Regions from separate parts of the Homo sapiens genome. Here regions 2 and 3 are each linked to region 1. Evidence: promoter capture Hi-C in 16 types of primary human blood cells and fetal thymus (Javierre and others, 2016). All regions are on one chromosome and are shown on one strand. The core of a region is centred on a gene start or on the middle of the fragment in contact, and the rest is flanking DNA. Distances in the headings are between cores, read along the strand shown.

Region 1 (4,258 bases), core at 149-2,648:
GCAGACAAGCTAGGTGGTCCAGTATCCATGGCAACAATGGTGATATTATAGCCTGAGACCTCCTCCCGATCCAAGCTTCTGTCAGTGACCAGTGAGTAAGAATTCCCAAATGTAGGTTTGATTACAAAGGGAAGGTCTTCTCTGAGGAAGCAGGTGACTTTTCCTCCCACTCGAATGTCCCGGTCTCTGATAGTGAAAAGGGCTACTACTGTCTGTGGTGGTGAGTCTTCAGGGAGTGGGCTGGACACAGAGGAGACCATCACTTCGGGAGGATTGTCATTCACATCCACCACTTCTACCAGGACTTTGCTGTGGGCAGAGAGGCCTCCACCATCTGTAGCTTGAATGTCAATGTCGTATGTTTCAATGGCTTCAAAATCGAGGGGTCCTCTTAGTCGAACTTCTCCATTTTGAGGGTCAATCTGAAACGTCTTGAGAATTGCTTCTGGGTTTTGAGCTAAAGAGTAAGTTATCGCTTTGTTGGTGCCCTCGTCTAGGTCCACGGCAGTCACCGTGGCCACCAAAGAGCCATTGGGGCTGTTCTCTGATACCTGGGCTCTGTACACCAGTCGCGAGAACTGGGGCACGTGGTCGTTGACATCCAGAACCACCACGTGGATGTGAGCTGTGCCAGACTTAGGCGGGGACCCGCCGTCCACCGCCGTAATTGTCAAGTTGACTTCAGGCTGCTCCTCTCGGTCCAGGGGTTTGTTCAGCACCAGCTCAGCATATTTAGGCCCGTGGCTGCAGAAGCGGGTGTGCAGGTGGAAATACCCATTGGCACTCAGGGTGTAGTTCTGGAGACCGTTAAGGCCCACGTCCAGATCCTGGGCGCTCTGCAGAGGAAAACGTGAACCCAAAGGGGTGCTCTCCGGAATCTTTAAAAGCGGCTCCTTGTTTAGGAAAACTGGGGCATTGTCATTGATATCAAATACCCTGACCTCGGCCCGGAAGGACTGCAGCGGCTCCACCAGGACTACTTCAAAGTGCAGAACACAAGGGTCGGCTTTGCCACAAAGTGACTCCCGATCCAGTTTCTCCTTCACAAACAAATCTCCCGTCTTGCGGTGGAGCCGGAAATGCATTTTGTTGCCCTCGGAAACCAGCCGCGCCCCGCGCGCAGCCAGCTTCCCTACCTCCAGTCCTAGGTCCTTAGCTACGTTGGCCACAAACGAGCCGCTCTCCATTTCCTCTGCCACTGAATAGCGGATAGTTGTCGCATCCCCCACAGATATGCACAGAAAAATGAGAAGAGATCCCACTTGCCTGTTTTGCAAAGATTTTCTGCGCGTACCCGCCATCAGTTCTCACAAGCGCGCTCTCTGCAATCAGAGCCAACTGTTGCGGATATACTTTCACTTTTCTGCAACAGGTTACTGCAACAGCTGCTCTCCGCTTCACTAGCCTCTAACTGCAGCACCACCAAAGGCTAGCCGAGCCCATTAAGCTGTTTTGCACTTGAAAGAAAATTTGCATTGAGCGACTCAACTCCCCAGTCTAGCGAATGTATTAATAGATATGTTCTCATTCCGGAGAGTTAGGTAGAGGTTGAAAGTTTGTTGCCAAAGCAACAACAGACTCACCTGTTAATTCCCTTTCAGGAAAAAAAGTCCTTGGGAATTGAGAAGCCAATGAGATTAGTCGTTCAAGCTGAAGTCATTCTATCTGCTAGCTGTCTGGAGCCACTGAAGCTGTGGGCGAACAGCAACAAGTTTAAGCTACATCTGCACACTCTGCGGTCCATCCAGAGACCAAGAAAGAAGCACAAGGATCCTGCAGAGTCTTCCGAAGCCCAAGCCAAATATATGAGGCAGGGAGCTAGAGAATGTGGAGGAAGTGGTCAGTAGGAAAAGGAATGGGAACAGACATTCTCCTTCAGAAACTTGAGGTCCAGTAAGTACACTGACAGGGGACTAAGCCAACTGACCTCTTGATTTGCACTACGCTATCATGCTACTTCTACGTATTCGCTCCGCCCCCCTCCAAATATCTGTATACACGTGCACAAAGGGAGCAGCTGGCTTGTCACTTATGATTATAATGGCAGTAGTATTTATTGGATATGATTTCCATGTACTGAGACTATGACAAGTGATTTACATGCATTATTTAATTTAATACTTGCAACAACTATATGGAGTAGACATTATTAAAAAAAAAAAAAGACAAAGAAAGTGAGATGGGAGAGGTTATGTCAAGGTCCCCTACCTAGCAAATGTTAGAAATAAAACTCAATTTAATTTTGTCTGACTCCGAAGTCTATGCTCTTAATCAGTACACTACTCTGCTTCCCAGATAATATAATGAATAAATCAAATGAAGATAAATATTTGGTTTTGGATTTTAAAGCAAATAAAATAAGATTGCTTACACATATTGAAAATGACCTAATAGAAATATAGGAGATATTTGTTGAGTTTCCTTTATGATCATAGGATAATAGAATGTTTAATAAGACATTTCAGAAAGATGAGATCCAGTCTCCTTCTCACCCACTCTCCACTTTAAAAAAAAAAAAAAACAGATGAAGAAACTAAGGCCCGAAGTGATGAAGTCACTTGCCCAATTCATACAGCTACTCATGGCAGTGTAAGAACTAGAACTTGTCTTCTGATGCTGTCTCATGCTCATTACCTAAAACATTTGATTTCTCATTTGTGCTCAATACTTTATGTCCCAGGTGCTATAAAATTATGGCCACTTAACGGAAATCTAACTATATTTTCCAATAGGAAAAAAAGAATGAAAGTAGAAAGTGTACAGAACATTAATTACATCCTGACATGAGGGAATTAATGAATCTCTCAATCTCTGTCAGTTATTTTAACACCTGGCTTAAGTGTGCATCCTTAAACAGTTTAGTTTTGCCTCTTTTGAAAACTATATATCTTACTTGAGTATGAGTAGAAATAAAACAAAACTATGTATCAAGTAAAGTGTACAGTAGGTAATCCTTTGAATTTTGTTTCTTTCCCTCATTTTTTAGCTCAATGTAAGATTGGTGTTATCTTTAGCTCTAGTTCATTTATTTCCATTACCGTATAAAATACCAATATATTGTCAATGTCCTTTAGCTAGAGACCATCAGACACACACCTGTAGTTGAACAAAGTTATATTTACTGACTTATTATAACAAGGGAAGCTGTACACCATAGAGAGTCATGGAGCATCTCAGTGAAACGGTGTTAGAAAGAACATATATTTGGTCTTGTGTTAGATGATTTGGGGGAGGTTTGAAGCAGAGTGCTCTGGATTGGATGTCATCATAAGTGGAGTTAACTCTATGATGAGTATATTGATAATTCTTATGTAGAAGGTGAGAGGAAAGGGGTGAGGCTAACTCTGTGATTGGTAAGTAAGCTGAAGTGACTAATACTAGCCAGGACAGAAAGATGTTTGGGCATTTTTGTGGATTGGACAATACTCTTTTTTGTCTGTATTTAGACACACTTATGGTGTGCTCTCATTTTCCTCTTGCTCCATCATAGTCATGGTATGGCCTTGTCTGATACTGGTGTCCTATGAAATCATTTTTTGTTCAACAGAAGATCACTATGTCCTAGCTGTGAGTGTCAGGCCAGCTCCTAGCTCTCGTGGACTGCTTTTGTCTTTTTCAGTATGAATGCAGCAAAATGCATTTACCTATTTTATTATTCTGCTGCTCATAGCATATCATTGTACGTGTCACTTTGTGCACATGTATACACATATTTTGGGGGGGAATATATACATAGAAGTAGCATTGATATCATAGGATATGTTCTTTTCAGCTTTACGTGATGTCACCAAACTGCTTTCTAAGAAGTTGTACTGGCTGGGCGTGGTGGCTCACGCCTGTAATCCCAACACTTTGAGAGGCCGAGGCAGACCAATTATGAGGTCAGGAGTTCAAGATGAGCCTGACCAACATGGTGAAACCCCGTCTCTACTGAAAATACAAAAATTAGCCAGGGATGGTTGTGCGTGCCTGTTATCCCAGCTACTCAGGAGGCTGAGGCAGGAGAATCACTTCAACCCAGGAGATGGAGGTTGCAGTGAGCAGAGATCGCGCCATTGCACTCCAGCCTGAGCCACAGAGTGAGACGCCATCCAAAAAAAAAAAAAGTTGTACTGATTTACACTCTCATCAGCAGTGCAACTTCTAGTTGCTCAAATTATTTCCAACACTTAGAATTACTAGTCTTTTAAAATTTTGACCATTCTGGTGAGTGACTGTGTTTACATTTCACTGATTAATTTGCATTTCTCATTAATTA
Region 2 (4,258 bases), core at 670-3,169, 110 kb after region 1:
GGATTATACATCATAAGCAACCTGAGTTTATTCCAAGAATGCAAGATTGGTTTATCATTAACAAATCAACCAATATAATGCATGCTATTAATAAAAGGATAAAAATCCATATTATCCATTCAATAACAGAAAATATGTGATAAATTCAATGCCTATTCATGATTTTTAAAAAACATAATAAATTAAAAAACAAAGGGAACTTAATAAATCTGATAAAGGATTTTTGCAAATAAACCCAATCAAACAATGTATTTCATATTAAATATTTAAAAACTTCCTCTCTGAGACCAGGAATAAGACAAGATTATCCATTAACATTACTTCTATTCAATTTTATACTGAATTTCATAGGCAATGACAGAAAGCAAGAAAACTATGTGATTAGAAAGTTTTTAAAAGACCAGGCATGGTGGCCTATGCCTGTAATCCCAGCACTTTGGGAGGCTGGCGTGGGAGGATTGCTTGAGCCCAGGAGCTCCAGACTAGCCTGGGCAATGTAGTGAGACTCTATCTCTATTTTTTTAAAAAAAGAGAGAAAGTAAAAAATACAATAATAAAACTAACATTATTTGGGAATAGCATGACAGTATATGTAGAAAACCCAAAATATAAAAATATGAGATTTTACTATTTAGCAAGAACATTGGATACAAAGTTAACATAAAATCAGTATTATTTCTATATACTTTCAACAAAAGCCAATTATCAAATTAAACTTTTTTTTTTTTTTTTGAGACGGAGTCTCACTCTGTCGCCCAGGCTGGAGTGCAGTGGCGCGATCTCGGCTCACTCCAAGTTCCGCCTTCCAGGTTCATGCCATTCTCCTGCCTCAGCTTCCCGAGTAGCTGGGACTACATACGCCCGCCACCACGCCCGACTAATTTTTTGTATTTTTAGTAGAGACGGGGTTTCACCGTGTTAGCCAGGATGGTCTTGATCTCCTGACCTCGTGATCCGCCTGCCTCAGCCTCCCAAAGTGCTGGGATTACAGGCGTGAGCCACCATGCCCTGCCTTTCTTTTTCTTTTTAGATGGAGTATCACTCTGTTGCCCAGGCTAGAGTGCAGTGACGCGATCCCAGCTCACTGCAACCTCTGCCTCGCAGGTTCAAGCAATTCTCCTGCCTCAGCCTCCTGAGTAGCTGGGATTACGGGTATGTGCCAACATGTCCAGCTAATTTTTGTATTATAAAATTAAACTTTTAAAATAGCATTAAAATATCAGCTATCTAATAAAAGTTGTGCAATACCCCTATATACACATACACACACATAAACATTAAGATAAAATAATAAAATAAATGGAAGAAGCCGGGCGCGGTGGCTCACGCCTGTAATCCCAGCACTTTGGGAGGCCGAAGCGGGTGAATCACGAGGTCAGGAGATCGAGACCATCCTGGCTAACACGGTGAAACCCCGTCTCTACAAAAAATACAAAAAATTAGCCGGGCATGGTGGCGGGCGCCTGTAGTCCCAGCTACTCGGGAGGCTGAGGCAGGAGAATGGCATGAACCCGGGAGGCGGAGCTTGCAGTGAGCCGAGACTGCGCCACTGCACTCCAGCCTGGGCGACAGAGCGAGACTCCGTCTCAAAAAAAAAAAAAAAAGATAAATGGAAGAATATACCTTGTTAATCGGTTGTCTGTCTCAATATTGTCAATGTTAACAAGCTTCATATTTTTATAGATTCAATAAAGATCAAAATAAGATATTTTCAATATACCCCATATTTTCTACAGATTCAATATAGTGCCAATTAAAATCAAAGCAGGGTTTTTTAAAATAGAAACTGAGAAGCTGAATCTACAATTTATATAGAAATGCAAAGGGCCAAAAATAGCTAAGTTAATCTTGAAGCAGAATAACAAAGTGAGAGAACTTACACAATTAGATATCAATACAAATGAAAAGTTACTATATTTAACACAGAATGTATTGGCACAAGAATAGACAAGTTGACCAATGAAACAGAATAGACAGTCCAGAAACAGAATATATAAAGTCACGTTGCTTATGACAAAGGTAGCACTGCACAGTAGCAGCGAGGAAAGTAGGCAATCTAACTGGATTTACAAGTGGAAAATATAAATCTTGACTTCTACATTGCACTATATTCAAAAGCAATTTCAGGTAATTTAAGATCTAAATGTGCAAGTTAAAACAAGAAAGCTTCCAGAACTACAGCAACCACTAAACAGATGTGGTTATTTAAGCTTAAATTAATTAAAATTAGTAACATTAAAAATTGAGTAGCCCAGTTTCACTAGCCACATTTCAAGTGCTCAGTAGCTACACATTCCATATATGCAGATAGAGAAAATTTATAGCATGTCAGAAAGTTCTATTGGATAGCAATGTTATAGAAGAAAACACAGGAATATATCTTCATGACTTGAAGCAGGATATGTTTTCTTTAAAAGGATAGAAAGAATACTAAATAAAAAAGACAACTTTGGCTGGGCGTGGTGGTTTAGGCCTCTAATCCCAGCACTTTAGGAGGCCAAGGCGGGCAGATCACTTAAGGTCAGGAGTTCGAGACCAGCCTGGCCAACATGGTGAAACCCTGTCTCTACTAAAAGTATAAAAATTAGCCGGGTGTGGTGGTGGGTGCCTGTAATCCCCGCTACTCGGGAGGCTGAGGTGGGAGAATCGCTTGAACCCGGGAGGCAGAGATTGCAGTGAGCCAAGATTGTACCACTTTACTCCAGCCTGGGCAACAGAATGAGAATCTGTCTCAAAAAAAAAAAAAAAAGATAATATTGATAAATTGGAGCTCATTAATTGCTAATCAAAAGACACCATTAAGCAGTATGGAATATGTGTAAATACTATACTACTATGAAATAATCTCGTTTATATTTTTAAGTGAAAAAACTCAAAGTGGGGAAGAATGTGTATTGTATGGAATAATAGATACTAGACTTCTCTAAATATATTTTGTTTTATAAGTTTATTTTGGAGCCATGTAAATATTTCACATAATTATAAAAGAAAATTAAAATTTAAAAAGCAAGCCCTAAATTTGAAAGCGACTTGAAAAAAGCCTAGCTCTGTATCTAGCTGGTGGCTTAACTACACAGAGAGGAACTTTTCCAAGATACTTTAAAACACAATAATTTGACTGTACATGCCTACTGGGCATTTGTAAGGATGTGCCTTATAAATGAAAAGAATGACAAAAACTTAAACTGCTACAGTATCATATTATTTCTGTAGTGCTGAAATTGTTTTCTAAGTCCATTGTTTGAGTCCCGTGGGATAACAAATGAGTAATTCTGTTGACGTTAATGAAAACTGGGATTTGACGTATGGGAGAAATAGGAATGTAAGATTGATGAAGTTAAGTAAAAACCTCGGAGTGCTGAACTTTATTAGATTAGTATAAACATGTGATGTATTTTATCTTTTAAAAAATAGACATCCCTTAGCTCAGTAGCTGAAGATACCTAGAAACAGCAACTGACCCAGCAGCAATAAGCACACCTGTTGTTGAGATTATATCTCTAAGTATCATCTTTCACTAAAAATAAGTGAAAGCTCTTTGAAAAATGGCTGATTCTGGGAAAGGAAATGTACAAGATAATCTGAACATCTTGTAATACCAGAAATCAAGGAAGCATTCAAAAGACTATTAAGACTCACATGAAAAGGATTCAGGGTGTTATCACTGGGGAAAAGTGGGTGACAAGCACATGGGATCTCTCTATACTAGTTTTGTAACTTTATGTGAATCCATAATTATTCCAAAATAAAAGGTTTAAAACAAGATACACAAACACACTCACAAAGACTCAGGAGCAAAGCTGAACAGTTCCCAACTTGCCAAAGTTAGCATAATTTGATCATTAAAAAGATAATTGACATGGATTGGGCCATATCAAATATGTTTAAGTCAATGAGTTCATAATGACACCTAAAAAAGGCCTTGGTCCTTTTTGTAAGATGGCCAGGAATCAATTCATTGTTTTGAATACTGCTAAACAAAGGGGAAGAATCAAACATTTATCCTGCCTTTCCTGTGTGAACTGTACCTCAGGCTAATCAAATAGTTGAAGACCCATTACAGAAATGTTACAATTAATTAAAAAAAAGAAGAAATGATAGAATTAGAACGGTAGCTCTCGAAGTGTGGTCTATGGACCCTTTGGGTGTTTATGAGGTGAATATAATTTTCAAAATAATGTTAAAACATTATTTGCATTTTTCACTATATTTACACTTGCATTGATAATGCAAAAGCATTGGTGGGTAAAGCTGGCCA
Region 3 (4,258 bases), core at 769-3,268, 99 kb before region 1:
TTGAGCAGCTGGTACGACAGCCAGGCGTTCTGGCCCGAGTCGCCGTCCACCGCCACCACCTTGGTCACCAGGTAGCCCGGCTCGGCCGCCCGGGGCACCAGCTCGGTGCAGGGCGCGGAGCCGTTCTGCAGCGGGTACAACACGAAGGGCGAGTTGTCGTTGGCGTCCAGCACCAGCAAGCGCACCAGCGCCTCGCTGCTCAACGCCGGGGAGCCGCGGTCTGTGGCGCCCACGCGGAACTCGAAAGACTGCAGGGCCTCGTAGTCCAGCGACCTGAGGGCAAACAGGTGGCCGTTGTCCGCGTTGATGGAGACCAGGGAAGAGAGGGGCAGGTGCGGGTCCTGGGGCGGCAGCAGCGAGTAGGTGACCTGGGCGTTGATGCCTGAGTCTCTGTCTGTGGCGCTGACGCTGCCGATGTGCAGGGCGGGGCTGTTGTTCTCGCGGACGAACAGGGTGTAGGAGGTTTGGGTGAAGGCGGGGGCGTTGTCATTGACGTCGGAGACCTGCACAGTTATGCTCTGCTGGGTTTTCAGCCTTGGTGTCCCCAAATCAGTGACCGTGATAGTGATGTTGTACTCGGCTCTGCTCTCTCTGTCCAGCGCGCCTTCTGTTACCAGGGTGTAGAAATTCTCCACGGAAGGTCTTAGTAGAAAGGGGAGATTGTTCTCTATTGAACAAATAACCTGTTGGTTATGTCCAGAGTCTGCATCTGAAACACTGAAAACTGCCACTGTGATCTCTGGTAAGTTTTCTGGGATGAGGCTGATGAAGAACGACATGGTGAGTTCAGGGGCATTGTCATTCACGTCCAGGACCCTGACGACTAAAGAGCATTTTCCTGATAGGCCTCCACCATCTGTAGCCTCAACATCCACGTCATAAGACTGAATTTCCTCAAAATCCAAAGCCTTTCTCAGCCGAATTTCTCCTGTGATTGCGTTTATTTCGAAGGGTTGGTTGACGTCATCGACTTGAAACAGGGCGTAAGATACCTTCCCAAACGATCCTGCATCTAAATCTCTGGCTGAGACGGTAATAACCAGAGAGCCGAGGGGGTTGTTCTCAGGGACTTGTGCTTCATAGAGCTCCTGAGCAAACTCGGGGACGTTGTCATTGATGTCCAAAACCTGGATCTGAATCTCGGAGGTCCCTGACCGGGGCGGAGACCCGCCATCCAGCGCGATCAGCGTTAGCCTGAGTTGGGGCTGCTCCTCGCGGTCCAACGGTTTGTCTAGCACCAGCTCCGGGAACTTCCTGCCTTCGCTGCGATTGCGGGTGAGAACGTGGAAGTGAGGGTTGGAGCTGATTGTGTACCTCTGAAGGCCGTTGCTGCCGGTGTCTAAATCGTGTGCCATTTTCAAAGGAAATATCTTTCCTGGCATAGTAATTTCTGATATTTTCAGGAGCATTTCTCTGGCAGGGAATTCCGGGGCGTGGTCATTTATATCTCTGACTCGCAAGGAAGCCTGAAAAAACTGCAAGGGGTTTTCCAGTAACACTTGGAAAGGTAGCACACACGGCTCAGTGGAGCCACACAGCTCCTCCCGGTCCAGTTTTTCATTTAGCAGTAAATCATGGGTCTGTGGATCAAACTGCAAATGTTGTCTGTTCCCTTTGAAAACAACCCGAGCGCCCCGCGAAGCCAGCTCCCCCACCCTCAGTCCCAGGTCCTTTGTCAAGTTGGCCACAAACGTGCCACTTTCTGTCTCCTCCAATACGGAATACTGAATCGATTCAGAACCCACCTCTCCCCAAAGCATCAATAAAATGAAGAAAGCCACTTGCCTTTTCTTGTTCTGTACTTTAGTTTGCATCATGTCTATTATGTCTGAATACGGAAGAAAAATCCTTTTCAGCTCCCAATCACCACATCTACCGTCGACCCTCTCGGATGTCTTTGCAGAGATTTTTAAATTCGTTCTTACAACTTGTCTGGCGACGACTGCCTTCCCGGACACATCTATCTCAGCTTTAGCTGTAAACGTGGTCTGTATTTTTACTTGGCTTCTGGATGAAACGGAGTCCACCGAGTCTGCAGAGCTTTCATTCACTCTCTTAGCTTGTACCGCCACCACGCGTTCAAACTAATAACTTCATGAGATGTTTTCAGGTCAATAGCATTTCAGAAATCTGAGCATTATAAAGACTTTTAAGTCGAGTCAGTGTTTCTCAAACTGAGTGCGTGGACCGCATGCATAAATAATTGCTTGCGAGCGTTGGTTTTTTTGTGTGTATGTTTTTGTTTTTAAGCCAATTCCTGGGTTCACTCCCCTCTAGAACTTGAATCAAATTCCCTGGTGGTGCTAATTAAGGAGAAAGATTGAAGTGCAGATTCTACACTTCAGTCTTTCTCCTTTGATGCTTCAGCAGTGCAATTTATCTCTGATGAACTATTTAATCTATTAGTCCAAGAGGTACACTATTTAATTGTCCCAACAAACAATGCAAAACAACGAAGTTTGTTAGCAACAATAATGGTAAAATAAACAATAAATTATCTAAATTATATGACTCATAAATGGCATGAAAAAAAAAACCTACTTTGTTATATAGTTATGCCTGCACAGTAAAAAGAACAATTAGGCTATTAGGAGGAAAACTGAGGCCAAGAAGTACGTATGATACATGTATCTAAGTAAATTAAAGTATTTAAAAGAGGGACTAGAAGCAATCAAGTAGTTGTCATAAGCATTTTAGGATTCTACTCCATTTTTGCATGGATAGAATTAGACATTGTTTTAACAGTCTTGTGCATTTTATTTTTTGATCAAATTCCCCTCTTACATTATTTAATCAAGGTCCAAATATATTACCGTGTTGTACAAACATGATGCAACACAGAAAACAAACATTCAAGAATCACCTTCACCGTCTTCTCACAGCAAAAAGAACACCAAGTCCAATAAATACAGGCCAAATTAAGGTACTGTTAAAACAGGTGAGTTACATTTGAGTGAATGCCATGGAATTCAATGATGGAATATTATGGCTATATCCATTCCCATCTCACTAGTTTCTACTCAGATACATTGGAACATGTATCTCTAAACAAACTGAAAATGTGTGAAATAGATTAGTGCACATAGAAGAGGTAAAATATGCCAAACAATTCAATTCATTTCAGATTAATTTCATATTTATTGAGAGGTGAAATCAATTGAGTTCAAACAAAGTTCACTTCAGGTAAGGGCCAAGGTGATAGAAGATTAAAAATCAAGATATTTTCAAATACATAAATGCTAGGCAAAACAAATAAGGCTAAATAAAATCTAAACTCTGAATAGCTGAGATGATCTTGTAGTTCAAAATCACCTCTATGTAGCCAGAAAAACAAAAGATTATGAATGTGACCAGCCTCCAGGGTTCACTTGATAGATGCTACTGGGAACACACTGTTCCTTGAGAATGTAACAAAATGAAATTATGAAATAAACCAACAATAATAAACATATTGGACTGGTGTCATCTCTTTGCTGAAACAAGGCCATTATTTCCTGCTCAATCTTAAATGCTTCCTTCTTTCGGTGAGCATTCTGAGTTCTGATTCCAGCTTAACGGCATCCACAAAGTCTTTTATTCACTCTGTTTCTCTGAAGCACCACCAGGCATCCTCGAATATAGGTTGTTGAATTATTTTTTTACGTCAGAGCAAATTTATCAGCAGTACAGTATTTGTCAAACTCCATTTAGATCCTTGAAATGTCTTTGATAACATTGGTAGTTATATAGAAAGAGGATAATAGCTCAAAGTACCCCAAAAAGATATCAGTTGGGTCTATCAAGAAACTGCCTTTTTATAGAAAATGGATTACGTTAGATTGTTTCAGGAGAATGTTTCTCTGTGTTGCCCTCTTTTGCTTTGATTTGATTGACTAGAGTAGAGTTGAATTAAGTTTGCATTCGTAAACATGTTCTCACAAGGACTCATTAACTTAAAATTTTTATTATGGAAAAATTCTAACATATACAAAGTAAACAGAATAAGCCTCTGTACACAATCAGTTTCACAACATTCTGTTGTCTTGTTTTGTCTATACCTTTCTCTCCATTCTCTGCTTCCCGCTTAATGATTACTTTTGTATAGTTCTTTTCTTAAGGCAATGTTTACAGAAATTGAAATGCACCAATCTTAACTGTACCATTTTAACAAATGGATTCATGTGTGTAACTCACACTTTTTTCAAGATACGGAACATTTTCATCATTCACTGGAAATCATCTTAATCATATTTTGAAGCTCAGTTTTGTTAACTGGGGA

What was found. Contacts are between HindIII fragments. The CHiCAGO score rates a contact against its expected background, and 5 or more counts as called.
Region 2: a contact is called between a fragment that was not itself captured here and the fragment with the promoter of PCDHB1 in region 1, in 3 of 17 cell types (M1 macrophages, M0 macrophages and endothelial precursors). The highest score is 6.5, in M1 macrophages.
Region 3: a contact is called between the fragment with the promoter of PCDHB6 here and the fragment with the promoter of PCDHB1 in region 1, in 4 of 17 cell types (M2 macrophages, M1 macrophages, M0 macrophages and 1 more). The highest score is 7.1, in M2 macrophages.

What each region holds. Positions count from the first base shown.
Region 1 is chr5:141,048,514-141,052,771 of GRCh38, reverse strand. PCDHB1 (protocadherin beta 1) reads right to left here and starts at 1,398. Exons shown (of 1, transcript NM_013340.4): 1 at 1-1,398. The coding sequence starts at 1,301. PCDHB1-AS1 (PCDHB1 antisense RNA 1) reads left to right here. Exons shown (of 4, transcript NR_105056.2): 3 at 1,602-1,893. It also overlaps PCDHB@. RefSeq lists an enhancer at 989-1,817. The HindIII fragment of the contact is 4,524 bases long and covers 78-4,258 here.
Region 2 is chr5:140,934,386-140,938,643 of GRCh38, reverse strand. The region is part of intron 1 of PCDHA1 (protocadherin alpha 1); the gene reads right to left. All of the region lies in intron 1 of PCDHA2 (protocadherin alpha 2), which reads right to left. The region is part of intron 1 of PCDHA3 (protocadherin alpha 3); the gene reads right to left. The region is part of intron 1 of PCDHA4 (protocadherin alpha 4); the gene reads right to left. It also overlaps PCDHA5, PCDHA6, PCDHA7, PCDHA8, PCDHA9 and PCDHA10, and 5 more genes. Among named protein-coding and RNA genes, the nearest start is that of PCDHAC1, 10 kb to the right of the region's middle. The HindIII fragment of the contact is 499 bases long and covers 1,670-2,168 here.
Region 3 is chr5:141,147,817-141,152,074 of GRCh38, reverse strand. It overlaps PCDHB6 (protocadherin beta 6), which reads right to left and starts at 2,018. Exons shown (of 1, transcript NM_018939.4): 1 at 1-2,018. The coding sequence starts at 1,817. It also overlaps PCDHB@. The HindIII fragment of the contact is 6,099 bases long and covers 1-4,258 here.